2 separate regions of the Homo sapiens genome follow, and region 1 is linked to region 2. The links are contacts of gene promoters, found by promoter capture Hi-C in blood cells and fetal thymus (Javierre and others, 2016). All regions are on one chromosome and are shown on one strand. The core of a region is centred on a gene start or on the middle of the fragment in contact, and the rest is flanking DNA. Distances in the headings are between cores, read along the strand shown.

The links. The method cuts DNA at HindIII sites, captures the fragments that hold promoters and counts their contacts. A CHiCAGO score of 5 or more calls a contact.
Region 1: a fragment that was not itself captured here is called in contact with the fragment with the promoter of LRRC31 in region 2 in 2 of 17 cell types (total B cells and naive B cells); the score reaches 6.7 in total B cells.

What each region holds. Positions count from the first base shown.
Region 1 is chr3:169,755,305-169,762,534 of GRCh38, reverse strand. No RefSeq gene overlaps it. Among named protein-coding and RNA genes, the nearest start is that of ACTRT3, 11 kb to the left of the region's middle. The HindIII fragment of the contact is 1,828 bases long and covers 1,973-3,800 here.
Region 2 is chr3:169,866,067-169,872,984 of GRCh38, reverse strand. LRRC31 (leucine rich repeat containing 31) reads left to right here and starts at 3,050. Exons shown (of 9, transcript NM_024727.4): 1 at 3,050-3,352. The coding sequence starts at 3,178. The HindIII fragment of the contact is 9,706 bases long and covers 1-6,918 here.

The DNA of each region.
Region 1 (7,230 bases), core at 1,637-4,136, 110 kb after region 2:
TGGTTAACCTGGGGCAGATGGTTAGCATTAACTCCATCGTCACTTTCTGGTTTAAAATAAAATAACCTCCTTAATGGTTGTAACCTTGGTTTCCACCCCACATCCACTCCCGCCCTAATACTCTTCGATGTGATTTTGTGCTGTGTGTGTTTCACTTTTTTACAAGTACAGTTGATTCTAGTTATTTGCAGTAGTTACATTCTGTGAAGCCTCTGTGAACACTGGATTAGTGAATACTGAACCATTGCTCCCAGAGGAATTACGGGATTAGGTTCCTGGGAACATTCGGTCACAACATTTTTGTCAAAGAATCGATACATAATCTTGTGTGTGTTTCTGTTAAAGACATCCTAAAGTATGTTGTTGATTCATTAGCACTGAACTCATATTCAACAACACTATCACTTAAGCCTGAATGAAGGCTAACACAAGTATTTTTTTTCTGTAAGACACATCACAGCTTTCTTGTGCTTAGGAACGCTAGACAGCACTTAAGCACTATGATTGGGGGTCATTTTAAACAGCACAGTCACCAACTAAAAGCATACAAATGTGAAAAACTTGCCATTAAATAGACCAGAAATAGGACACTTGTTTATAGTGTCCTTTTTGGACTACAAAGGCAAAAGAGAACCTATGTGTTGGGGAAATCAAACTTTTCAGGGCTCTGCACATGCCCATGAATGACTATGAAAGCACTGCAGGTATTGCTTTTGAGATTATAAACAATTTCGGTGACTAGGTGAATCCACAAATACAGAATCTATGAATATTGAGGGTTGACTGTACTTCAAGGTCTATGTGACAGCTGTATCTGAGAGAGACTACAGATGTCCACATGGTTCCTGAGGTACTTAGGGCTTGTTTCATGCCTTTTATATTATTTAAACCAGTGATTCTCAAAGGGGTATAGTGAGAGAAAGGGTATATGAAGTTTGCAAATGACGATACTTGTTCTCTTTATTTTGTTACTTAGGTTGTATTTCACATGAAGGATGTGAGAATTTTATGCGTATGAAGGAAGCATTAGCTTTAAAAATACTGAGAAACATGCTTTTTCTTTTGTCCTTCAGAATGAGGGGCTTCCTTTGTAAGGTCTGGAGTTGGTTATGGGTTTTGACTCTGAGGATGACATTGAGTTTTAATTCAGCTTGTCCTGGTTCTGCAGTCAAAAATTCCATGTTAGCCTGGCTCGAGACTTAAGAGACAAATAGATGGCACAGGCACAAGCGTGTGTACACATGCACCCACCGTCATACAAAGTGTAAGGGAGGAGTGGTTTTAAATAAGATGAGAATGAAGTGACAAAAGGTAACTGTCATTCCTTCATGTTCATTCTTTTAAGGTAATAATATGTGATGGAAGTAAAAACAGCGAAAATACCCAAGAATTAGCCCAGGATATGCAAATTTAAATGTCTGCAGTGGACAGAAAGGAAACAAAGAAGTGAATCACACTGGGAATAAGAAAATGGAGACTATAGAGATGGTAGGGAGAATGAGCTTCCCTTTTTAAGGAGGCAGCAATCTTACAGAAATTGAGCCTAAAATTGTCAGTATTGCAAGAGAAGACAAAAATTCAGATTTTTATGTCAACACCACTGATTATAGAATGTTGGTAGCTAAATTGAAATAAAATTTAAATATTATATAAGTGCATGGTAAAGAATTTGGATGGCTTTTGTTCCTGAACCCTGGGAAGTAGCCTCTAAACCCTTGGAATTCACCAAGAATGGTGGGAGTGTCTTTTCTTGGTAGGCCTCTTGGACTAGACCCAATAGTTTACACTAACGAGATGACTCATGACTGGGGGTTGGTCAGCCATGTGATTAGAGTGTTGGGGCTTTGGGCCCCATGATACTAGCCCGACCTCTTGAGAGACTTGGAGCCACATGTCTGAGCCTTATGACTAGTGATTCATCCAATCATGCCTGTAATGAAGCCCCAATAAAAACTCTGGACACACTGAAGCTTGGATGAACGTCCGTGGTTGGCAGTACTCAGTGTGCTAGGAGGAAAATGTGTCCCTGAGGACATGAGGAGAGGGACAATGGAACCTTCTTTCTGGGACCCTCCCAGACCTCACTCTATGTGTCTCTCCCTTTGGCTGGTTTTGATTTGAATCCTTTTGCTATAATAAAACCATAATAATAACTATAATAAACATCCTTTTGCTATGATAAAACTGTAATAAAACCGAAATAACACTTTCCTGAGTTCTCTAAGTCATTCTACTGAATTATGAAACTTGAAGGGGTAGTGGGAACCCCTAAATTTGTAGGCAGCTTGTCAGATGTAAGGATGGCCTGGGGACCTCCTAGCTTAGGTTGTTGATAGCTGAAGTCATTGCAATGCACCAATAAAAAAACGTTTTGAGATAAAATCTGGTCTATTATAGGCTATTAATTTGCGACCTTTGGCCTAGGCAAATTTAAGCATTCCTGAGTGCTTTCTCTAGAAGGGTGAGGGTTTGGACCATCCTACCAGTTTGAGGCCTACCCAAAATAAATGTATTTGAGAGGAGTTTACACTGGTGGTATCTGTTATAGGTTTCTGGGAATATCACTAAAGAGAAGTTTCAAAATTAAATTTTAATAATATTCTGAAAATAGTAGTGCTAATCCTTCACGTATAGGGGTTAGGGTATTTCTTCCAGTGGTTCTGCCTGAGGGGTGGGCCTGTTTTTCAGTGTCCATTCTGTCAGTCGTTATGGGATGTGAAGAGGGTTCCAAGGGTTCCACCATCACTAGGTGGAAATGAGGCAACTTTTCCCATATTTTTCCTTTACTCTGGTTTGTATCTCCCCTCCTAGGTAGGTATCAAAGTATATATGGTCTTCATTTGTGTTGCCTCAAATTCTCATTTCTTCCTTGATATAAAAAGGAAACAGGAAGACATTGAAATAAGGATATTATTGTGGTCCTGTACTTTTACCCTGTTCTAACCTAGCTGAGGGAATCTAGCATAAGTCACCCAACTTTACATTCCACATGTGTCAACCGGATGTACTAAGACTTCCCTTGAAGGGTGGTTGTGGGGAGAATATATGAGTAATATATATGACAGCAACTGGTATTATTAATGAGAGGAGAAGTCTGTCTTACTCTTTACTTTGCAAGTAATGATTTTACAGCGCTCTGATGGGTATGTTGTAGTTACTCTGGCAGGAAGTGGTTTTGACTTGGGTATATAGTTAAGAGATATATGGAGAAGGGTGGAAGTGCTAATGGTTTGTGAATTTTTAAAATAACACCAATTATGAACTTGATGCACACCTGCAGCTAGAATCTTTCTCTAGATGATGTTTGACTATCATTTTTTTTTTTTTTTTTGTCTTGGGGCTCTAGGTTTTCACTTTGGTGATATTTATGTGTGTACTATGGCTGTCTATATAAGTGTTAAAAGGCATAATTATAGTTATTAAAAACAATTTAAGGAAAACAGAAAAATGCAATAATGAAGAAATACAAATACTGACTTTTTTGTATGATCAATGAGGATATTATAACTAAAATGAAAAACATTATACATATCAGTTGCAAAAACAGTTACATTCCCCACAATCTTTTTAAAAAATGCGAGTAGTTTGCTAAAGTGAACTGGGTGACTTATTTTCAACCTTGGAAGAAAAACTCAATTAAAGCTACATTTGAACTGTAATGGCACCAAGGAGTTCAACTTGACCTCATATGCCAGATTATAATCATCTTTCAAGTGTACAAACAAGGAAGCATAGTTATCAAAGAATGAGAAATACGTTTGTTCAAAGACCATTTACTGCTTTAACAAGAGGTGAAAGCTTGCCAGAAATATATAAACACCTACCCCAGTGCTATTCATAGGCTTAACATGTTCAAAGACTTGGGGGCGGAGGGGGGGCAATTTAAAAATATCTTTGAAGTTGTGGGTATTCATCATCATATCTAATAATGCTTACTTTCTAGAGCCCCTCTCCAAGGAGGGCAAAGCAATTTATCTGACTTATTTTCATGACATCCTTGTGAGATAAGGCAACCACCATTATCTCCCTTCTGCAAATGGAGAAACTGAAACGTTGGGAGGTAAAATCACTTGAAGAAGGTCAGTAGCAGGCCTAAGAATGTAAATACACGCATTTTAGCTTTTAACTGCTATTTTACTTTACAGAAAACTAAACAAACAAAAAATAATTTTAAAAAAATCACATACTTTTTCATTCTCTTTTTAAGTTAAAGAATAATTACTCATCTATCAACTTTTCCTTGGTAAGGAAAACAGTTTAAATGGCTTTTCACAATAACTGGAATCTTATTATACTGGAATGAATGAACCACTTGCAAAGTTGTGATGTTCATTTAACAAACACTAAATACCTAGTCTGCAACATGTTGTATTGTTCAGGGTGTTGAGACTTCAAAGGTGAAACATATATTCCTCATCTTTAAAGGTCTTCCTGGAGAGAGAGATTCTATAAGCAAATTATATGGTGCAGTCTCATGTTATTTAAATTTACTAAATTCATCATTTTATCCCCCAAATCTATTTTTTCTTCCCTTTCCCCTTCCCGTAAATGCTACTGCTACACCCAGGAGCTAAAACCAGTCTTCTGGGCACCACTGCTGATGTCTCATTTTCCCCGCACCCTGCCGTGTCCTCTGGTCTATTTTTTTTTTTTTTGAGATTGGGTCTTGCTCTGTTTCCCAGGCTGGAGTGCAGTGGTGTGACATAGCTCACTGCAGCCCTGAGGCTGAGGTGCGAGGGTCACTTGAGCCCAGGAGTTAGCACAGAGGCAAATGCTAAGTAATCTAATTAATAATGCTTTCTAATTTTTTCAGTTACAAAATTAATGTGACAATATCATAAAAAAAGGTGAGAAATAGAGGGACTACAGATGTGCACCGCCAGCCTAATTTTTAAAATAATTTTTTTGAGAGTCAGGAGCTTGCTATATTGCCCAGGCTGGTCTTGAACTCTTGGCCTCAAGTGATCCTCCCACTTTGGCTTCATTTCTACTACCTTAATCTAGTTCACTATCTTTTTTTTTTTTTTTTTTTTTTTTTGGAGAGAGAGTCTTGTTCTGTTGCCCAGGCTGGAGTGCAATGGTGTGATTTTGGCTTACTGCAACCTCCACCTCCCAGGTTCAAGTGATTCTCCTGCCTCAGCCTCCCAAGGAACTGGGATTACAGGCACGTGCCACAACGCCCAGCAATTTTTGTATTTTTAGTAGAGATGGGGTTTCACCACGTTGGCCAGGCTGGTCTTGAACTCCTGACCTCAGGTGATCCACCTGCCTTGGCCTCCCAAAGTGCTGGGATTACAGGTGTTAGCCACTGCCCCAGCCCAGTTCACCATCTTCTACAAAGACCTGACAGGTCTTTCTACTTCTTATCTTGCCTCACACCCATTACCAATTCATTCTTCACAACGGAACTAGAGTGATCTTATTAAAAGGCTAACTGAGCCATGTTTTTTCTCTTCACAACACTTTAGTGACTTCATGTTGCACTTGGAATAAAATCCAAAATTCTTATCAAGGCTTTGTATAATCTGGCCCCCTGCTTACCCCTCTGTGTCCCCACCCAAATCTCAACTTGAATTGTATCGCCCAGAATTCCTATGTGTTTTGGGAGAGACCCAGGGGGAGGTAATTGAATCATGTGGGCCAGTCTTTCCCATGCTATTCTCGTGATAGTGAATAAGTCTCACGAGATCTGATGGGTTTATCAGGGGTTTCCACTTTTGCTTCTTCTCTCATTTTCTCTTGCTGCCGCCATGTAAGAAGTGACTTTTGCCTCCCACCATGATTCTGAGTCATCCACAGCCAGGTGGAACTGTAAGTCCAATAAAATCCCTTTTTCTTCCCAGTCTCGGGTATGTCTTTACCAGCAGTGTGAAAACAAACTAATACACCCTCTTCTTTTCTTGCACTGTGCTTCAGCCACACCAGCCTCCTTTGTACCAAACTCTCATCCTGGGTTCTCTGCTTAAATTGCACTTGTAGTTCCTGGCCCCTTCTCTCCTCCTCAAGTCTTAACTTAGATATCACCTCCTCAGAATCCTCTCTGACCCCCTTTTGAAGCAGGTTACCCCTCCTCTTATGATCTTCTGTTGATTACCTTTATAACATGTTTTCCTAATTTGCAATAAATTATTTGCTTATCTGTGTTCTTCACTGGGTTATAAGGATAGGGGCAGAACCCAAGTCATTGAGTTCATTGACAGATCCCAGGTGCCTAGTACATAACAGGTGCTCAATAATTGTTTGTTGAATGCATGATGGAGTGCTGTTGGGGCAGAGAACAGACCAGCTAATTGTAACTATGATTTCACCAGCACAGAGGCAAATGCTAAGTAGATATCTGTAATTAATAGTGCTTTCTAATGTTTTTCAGTTACAAAATTAAAATTTAGGTCATTATTTGGTACATTTCTTTCCAGTCTCTCTTTGTACCTGATGTATATATTTTATACCTGTCTCTTTTTATACCTGATATATATATTTTAGACAATTATATGTCAAATTCTGCTTTTTTATTTAGTAATAAATTATAAATATTATTCCATGTTATTACAGAGCCTTCAGAACCATTATTTAATATTGTTGCCTAATGTTCCATTTAATGGATGTATCATAATCTATGTAACACTTCACCTACAGATGAATATTTAACTTGTTTTCAATTTTTTTACTGCTATCGTGAATAACTATGCACAAATTTTTTTATGTTTTTAGATTGTTCCTTTACTTAATTACTAAGGGTGCATCACTAACCCAAAGGGTAGTATTTTGTTTGAAGGAGAATTGTCCAGACTTGTATAGAACCTCTGGGTAATCTACCTATGTTACTTTCTCTTCTGGAATTTCCCAAAATAGAATTTATCTTGATCACTATGTATATCTGGTTGTCAACAGGACTAGATCTGGCCACAGCTGCAAACCTTGAGTAGCTATGCAGATTGAATCATTCAATCGTTTCCAGAGTCCTTCTACTACTAAAATAAAGGACACATTATATCTTCTCTGTCTTATCTTTCCTCATCTTCTTTCCTGCCTTGCTTTCCCTGCCAAAAGTTTTGATAAAGCAGGAGGTAAAGATGGCAGGGAGAGAGATAATGGCTAAAAACACAGAATCTGTTTCTCAGAGTTGTGTGTGTGTGTGTGTAGTATTAAGTCACGGGGGTCAAGGGTATCAATGCAGAGGCTGAATACATACATAGTGGTGCCTCTCCTGCATCACACCCTCCTCCTGCA
Region 2 (6,918 bases), core at 1,801-4,300:
CCTAATGTCCTCAAGATTCATTCATGTTGTAACAGGCAACAGAATTTCCTTTCTTTTTTTAATGAAATAAGACTGTGGAGAAAGAAAAATGCATCTCCCTTTGACAAACAACATTGAAAATATGATTCACTCTGAAACATTACATCAAAAAATGAAAGACTGGCTAGGTGCGGTGGCTCACGCCTGTAATCTCAGCACTATGGGAGGCCGAGGTGGGCGCACCACCTGAGGTCAGGAGTTTGAGACCAGCCTAGTCAACATGGTGAAACCCCGTCTCTACTAAACATACAAAAATTAGCCACGTGTGGTGGCGGATGCTTGTAATCCCAGCTATTTGGGAGGTTGAGGCAGGAGAATCACTTGAACCCAGGAGGCAGAGGTTGCAGTGAGCCAAGATTGCGGCACTGAATTTCAGCCTGGGCAACAGTGAGACTCCATCTCCAAAAAAAAAAAAAAAAAAGAATAAAGAAAGAAAGACCTTTAAAGACATTCCTCAAAAATTTTAAATTATATTAAACCCAAACCTAAGGATTGACAAGAAAGGAAAGGTATTCCTTACTTTTGCAAAAGTAATAAATAAAAAGAGCTTACATGCAAGAGAAATGACGTGTCAAATATGTATTATTACTCTTGAGGCTTCATGGCAAAACCTTAACTATTAAGAATATAGTAAATATGGAAAGTATCTGCTCAATTAATATTGATGAGTTGAATTGAAATATCAGCCATTTCTTATTCCTAAGGGCTCTTAAGTGAATGCTTTTGACCCTGGTAGAAGGGACAAACCCCCAGTTTTTAGCTGCTGTATTGTGGTGGTTGTGCTGTGATCTGCAAATTTTCCCAAATTCCTTTTCCAGGGATTTCCTTTATAAAGTCCAGTTCAGGGATAAGGAGGAAGCGGAAGGTTTACTGAAGCTAAGATTTTAAAGATGGACTTGGTTTGGGAAGCCTGAGGGCTTATTAAAGTTTTTATATAAAGAGGAATTTCCCAGACATATTTTCAAGAAAAAATTATTATTATTTTTAAATATGAGTATGGTAACCTAGCACTTAACTACTATACATGAAGAAATGTGCAAATGCTTCCCCCTTTTCATTCAAAAGCCTTCCTTCCTCTGGCATGGTCCTTTCTTGTTGCCTTATTAGCCTCCTGGTTGCTTTCTATTCTCCTGTTCCTTTCCTCTCCTTCACATCCTCTTCTGTTCCTTGGTTCTTGTGTTTCTTGGCTTCCTGGCTCCCCTGTTCCTTAGTGTACTGATCTTCACAGAGAACTGGCTGGGCCTCAGAAGCTGGGTGTGGTTTCACCTGGGTAAATTACCACATCCTGGAGCACCCTCCAGCACTGTTTTCTTAGGACTTGGGGAGTTGGAGTCAGTGCATTTGGGGGGAGGATAAAAAAGTGAAACCATTTACTGAGCTAGCTCCCCAGAGAATAGCCCTGTCTAAATCTCCAAATGGTGAAATTGGCTGAAAATGACCATGGAGGTGTCCTGGGTGGGGGGCCAGAAGAGTAGCAAATTGAGAAAGGCCTGGGGTGATGGTGGAATCAGGGTGAGGCAGCCAGGGCTGCAGGTCATGTTTAGATTTATGAGTTAGCGCCCCTTTCCTTCTTCTTTTCCACCTAACCCCCTGAGACTCTAGTCAGCTGTGCTGCTGTGCATGGAGTAATTGTTTAGTTCCACTGCTGTCTGTTGCTGGGTAAACCAGGGCTGGGCCCTGCTCTAATATGAAAGGAAGATTTTAAAAGAAAAATGGAATGTCCAATTGTGACTTCCAAAGCAGTGCTCCAAGTGCATGGAACATTCCAGCCCTCACGAGTGGAGGTGGGCTCTGCAAGGTCCATTTTTAGGATTCCCTGTGTAAAATGTTTCTTGGACCATTCTGGAACATAATGTTACAGAAAGAGCTATTTTATTAGAGAGGAGACTATGAAAACTGTAATTTCAAGAATACTTCTGCTGGGCATGATGGTTCACACCTTTAAGCCCAGCACTTTGGGAGGTCGAGGTGGGCGGATCACTTGAGGCCAGAAATTCAAGACGAGCCTGGCCAACATGGTGAAAATCCATCTCTATGTCAAAACAAAACAAAACACTTCTGTGTATCCCTTTAGTTTAAGTCCTTAGCCCTCCCATAAAATATAAGCAAATTTCAGGAGAGATAATAGATTGACCTTTACGAATCCTTTTTAGCTTCAATTCATACCAGACCTCACCCCTAACCTCCACACCCCCTGACCCACATCCCCACCTCCAATGCTAGGCTCTTCCAGCCGTTCCTGCCTGGGAGCTCTTGAGCTTACCCTTTCTTCTGCCTGGGATACTCTTCCCTCTCTTAAAAAGCTAACTCGCAGTCCTTCAAAACCCAGGCAATGTCACTCACTGTTCCAAGTCTGTTCTCCAAGGCATGCTTAGTTTACTGTGGGTTCCCTGACCACCTCCCATCTCTTGGCTCTTGTCCCACTCAATCAATGGCATACAGGTCCATCTTCCCACCAGGTTAAGATCCCATCAAAGACAAGAACTGTCTCTTGTTCGTCATTGAATCTTTTGCATTTAGAACATTAACTGGCCCACAGTAGATTCTTTAAAACTATTTATGGAATGAATGAATTCTTTACTGCCAACATGTTTCAGTGGGGTGGTGGTGCAGGGTTGGGGGTAGAGAAAATATGAATATGCAAAGAGAAAAAGGAGCTTATGTGCAAAGGAAGGAGGTGGGGGTCACCAGAAGGCAGAGGTCGCTGAAGGCAAACTCCTCTGGGGACAGCTTTGCAAATGGCCAGTCCCTTTTAAAGGCATATTAAGTCTTCAGGTAACTAATTGACAGCTGTAATTTAAGATGTGTTGACACACTTGATGTGCTTGCCAAAGTCATGCTTAATGACTTGTATCTCACACAATGAAATAGGGCAAAGTTAAAAACTCAAATTGCTTTGAGTTTGTATTGGCTTCTGGATCCTGGGTTACATCATTCTTATTTTCATGTTAAACATTAACAGCAATAAAAAAACAGAAAAAGAAAGGTGGTGCGGCAGGGAGTGGGGGGCAGTCATGTAGGGGAGGATATTTTGATTGAACACAGGCTTGACAGAATCTTCTTTTCTTCTTAGAAATCCTAGAAAACAGAAAGCAACAGGAAGATGTCTTATTGGGAACTACCCCCATCAACTTCACCATGAGTCAAACAAGGAAGAAAACTTCCTCAGAAGGAGAAACTAAGCCCCAGACTTCAACTGTCAACAAATTTCTCAGGGGCTCCAATGCTGAAAGCAGAAAAGAGGACAATGACCTTAAAACAAGTGATTCCCAACCCAGCGACTGGATACAGAAGACAGCCACCTCAGAGACTGGTAAGCTGCTGGCTGCTGGTGTTTTTGCTGTTGTATTTGTTTTGTTTTTACTTCCACATTTAAAATATTTTTATTTTTAATTTTTGTGGGTACATAGTAGGTGTATATATTTATGGGGTATATGAGATGTTTCAATACAGGCATGCAATGCCTAATAATCATATTGTGGAGAATGGGGTATCCATCCCCTCAAGCATTTATCCTTTGTGTTACAAACAATCCCATTATACCTTTAGTTTTATTTATTTATTTATTTATTTTGAGACAGAGTTTCACTCTTGTCACCCAGGCTGGAGTGCAATGGCGTGATCTCAGCTCATAGTAACCTCTGCCTCCCGGGTTCAAGCGATTCTCCTGCCTCAGCCTCCCGAGTAGCTGGGATTACAGATGCGCACCACCATGCCCAGCTAATTTTTGTGTTTTTAGTAGAGATGGGGTTTCACTGCATTGGCCAGGGTGGTCTCGAATTCCTGACCTCAGGTGATTTTCCTGCCTTGGCCTCCCAAACTGCTGGGATTACAGGTGTAAGCCATCACACCAGGCCTCTTTTAGTTATTTTTAAATGTGCAATAAATTATTGCACATTTAAAAATAACTAAAAGAGCACAACGGGTTGTTTGTAAACAAAGGATAAATATAGTCACCCTGTTGTGCTATCAAACAGTAGATCTTATATATTCTATTTTTTCTGTACCCATTAACCATCCACACCTCCCCCACCAACAACACACACACCCTTCCCAGCCTCTATGTTTCTTTATTTTTTAGAGTTTTCTTCTAAAGTGATCTTATGGGTTAAACTAAAGACTTTAAGACTTTTGAGACTAAAGACTCAACTATGAGTCTCTGTGCTAATCATTTATTATGTTACTTACATGCTTTAAATGATTCATAATTTTACTTTTAAATTGTTAAAAGCAATATAACACTACAGAAAAATGTAGGGAAAATACTGAATTTCCTTTCATTATAACACAAACGATCATTTCTTTAAGATTCTTTTCAGTCTTTTCTTTTCATATGCATGCATTTATGTTCTGTCAGTCAGCAGTCAATAAATCTTTATTGAGTGCTTGCTATGTAGTAACCCCTGCTCTAAGTGTTAGAAATACAGCCATGAAAAGGACCAAATGCAGATATAACTTCAGGTGGTGATAAGTGATATGAAGAAAAATAATGCAGGCTAAGGAGACAAAGAATGATGGGATGGGGTGCTATTTAGATGGGGGTGGAGGAAAGAAGTCTTCGATTTGGAGGCATTTGAGCAGCAATCTGAATAAAATCAGCTTTGCTGAATGAATGAATAAAGCGAGCCACTTAGGTATTTGTGCAAATAGCTTTCCAGGCAAAGAGACTGTACATGCAAAGGCTTTAGATACGACTGAGCCTAGAGTGCTTGAGAGAGAGTCAGGAAGTCAGGGATGCTAAAGCAGGATGGGAGACATGGAGAGGAAGGGGTAGTGGAAGACAAGTCAGAGAGGTCGCTGGGGCCAGATTGGCATCTTTTCCACAGTTGTAATAGCTTACAGATTCCTCCTGAGTTTATGTGGAGCTGTGATCCTACTTCTAGAACATATTATTATATTGCTCAATTCCCACATTGCTACATGATGCTCATATGCATAATTTTCATGGTTGCATAATATTCCATCACATTCATATGTCTTAATTACTCAGTGAGTTCCTTGTTTGTCCTTCGGTGAGTATCTTTGGCTTTCTTTCTTTCCCATTCCCTGTTTCACCATATTTCAGCTATTTTTAAAGTATAAATTTCCAGAACAGGGATTGCAAATTCAAGGGTTATGAAAATAAATATTGTCAAATCTCTCTCTAAAGTTATGTGTTATGTGCAATGTCATCAATATATTATCTATTAGATTAAAAGCATTTTAAAAACATTTTAAGCATATGCAAAAATAGAATAAAGAATCCCCATAGTCACCTACTTTTAGTAATTATCAGTTGGGCATGGTGTTTCATGCCTGTAATCCCAGCACTTTGGCAAGCTGAGGCAGGAGGATCGCTTAAGGCCAGTAGTTTAAGACCAGCCTGGGCAATATAGCAAGACTCTGTCTTGGTCGGGTGCGGTGGCTCATGCCTGTAATCCCAACACTTTGGGAGGCCGAGGCAGGCATATCATGAGGTCAGGAGATCGAGACCATCCTGGCTAATACGGTAAAACCCAGTCTCTATTAAAAATATAAAAAAGTAGCCGGGTGTGGTAGCAGGTGCCTGTAATCCCAGCTACTCGGGAGGCTGAGGCAGGAGAATCGCTTGAATCCGGGAGGTGGAGGTTTCAGTGAGCCAAGATTGCACCACTGCGCCACTGCACTCCAGTCTGGGCGACAGAGCAAGACTCTGTCTCAAAAAAAAAAAAAAAAAAAAAGACTCCATCTCTAGAAAATAGTTTAAAAATTAGCTGGGCATGGTGGTGCATGCCTGTGGTCCTAGCTACTCTGGAGGCTGAGGTGGGAGGATCGCTTGAATTTTAGAGGTTGAAGCTGTGGTAAGCCATGATTGCACCACTGGACTCCAGGCTGAGTGACAGAGCAAGACCCTCAAAAAAAAAAAAACAAACAAACAAACAAAAAAAACCCATGGCCAATTTTCTTTCTGAGACAGAAAAAAAAAAAATCAACCCATGGCCGATTTTGTTTCTTTCTTTCTTTTTGAGACAGAGTTTCGCACCGTCACCCAGTCTGGAGTGCAGCAGTGTGATCTCGGCTCACTGCAACCTCTGCCTCCCAGGTTCAAGTGATTCTCTTGTCTCAGCCTCCCAAGTAGCTGGAACTACAGGTGTCCGCCACCATGCCCAGCTAATTTTTTTGTATTTTTAGTAGAGAAGGAATTTCACCTTGTGGGCCAGGCTGATCTCGAAGTCCTGACCTTAGGTGATCTGCCTGCCTTGGCCTCCCAAAGTACTGGGATTACAGGCCTGGCCAGGAGCCACTGTGCCTAGCCAATTTTATATCATTTATACCTACCCTCCCTTCCATCAGATTGTTTGCCATCAAATGCCAAAAATAATACAGTTTTAGCAGCAAGTAGATTAAATGTATTTTAAGTATGTTTTTATAAATAGGAAATTAAAGTCTGTCTTTAAAAGAAAACCATCTCTATCAGAAAATTGTTCATTTTTGTTCTAGAGTGTGATTTAGAGCATCAGGAAAGAAGATAATGAATAAATGTAATTGTGATTAAATTAACAGTGCAAAACCAAGCCGGGGTCATCCCTGCTGTGCAACACTGACCACCCAAGCTGCTTGGTTCTTCATTTCTATTTCTCCCAAAATTCTATGGCTCCTGGAGTCATGTTAATTCTGTCCTTAAATAGCTCTCCCACCTGGTTCTTCCTCTCCATTGCTGCTGCCTAGCTCTCATTGTCTCTTGCCTGGACCACAGCAATAGCTTCCTAACTGGTTTCTCTGCTTCCAGTCTTGCTCTCTTGCCAATCTGTCCTCTACACTGCCATAATGCTCTTTCTAAACCACAGATATGGTGGTGTCTCTCGCCTGCTTAAAATCCTTCACTGAGTTTCTCTCACCTATATTCCCAAGCATGGCCCT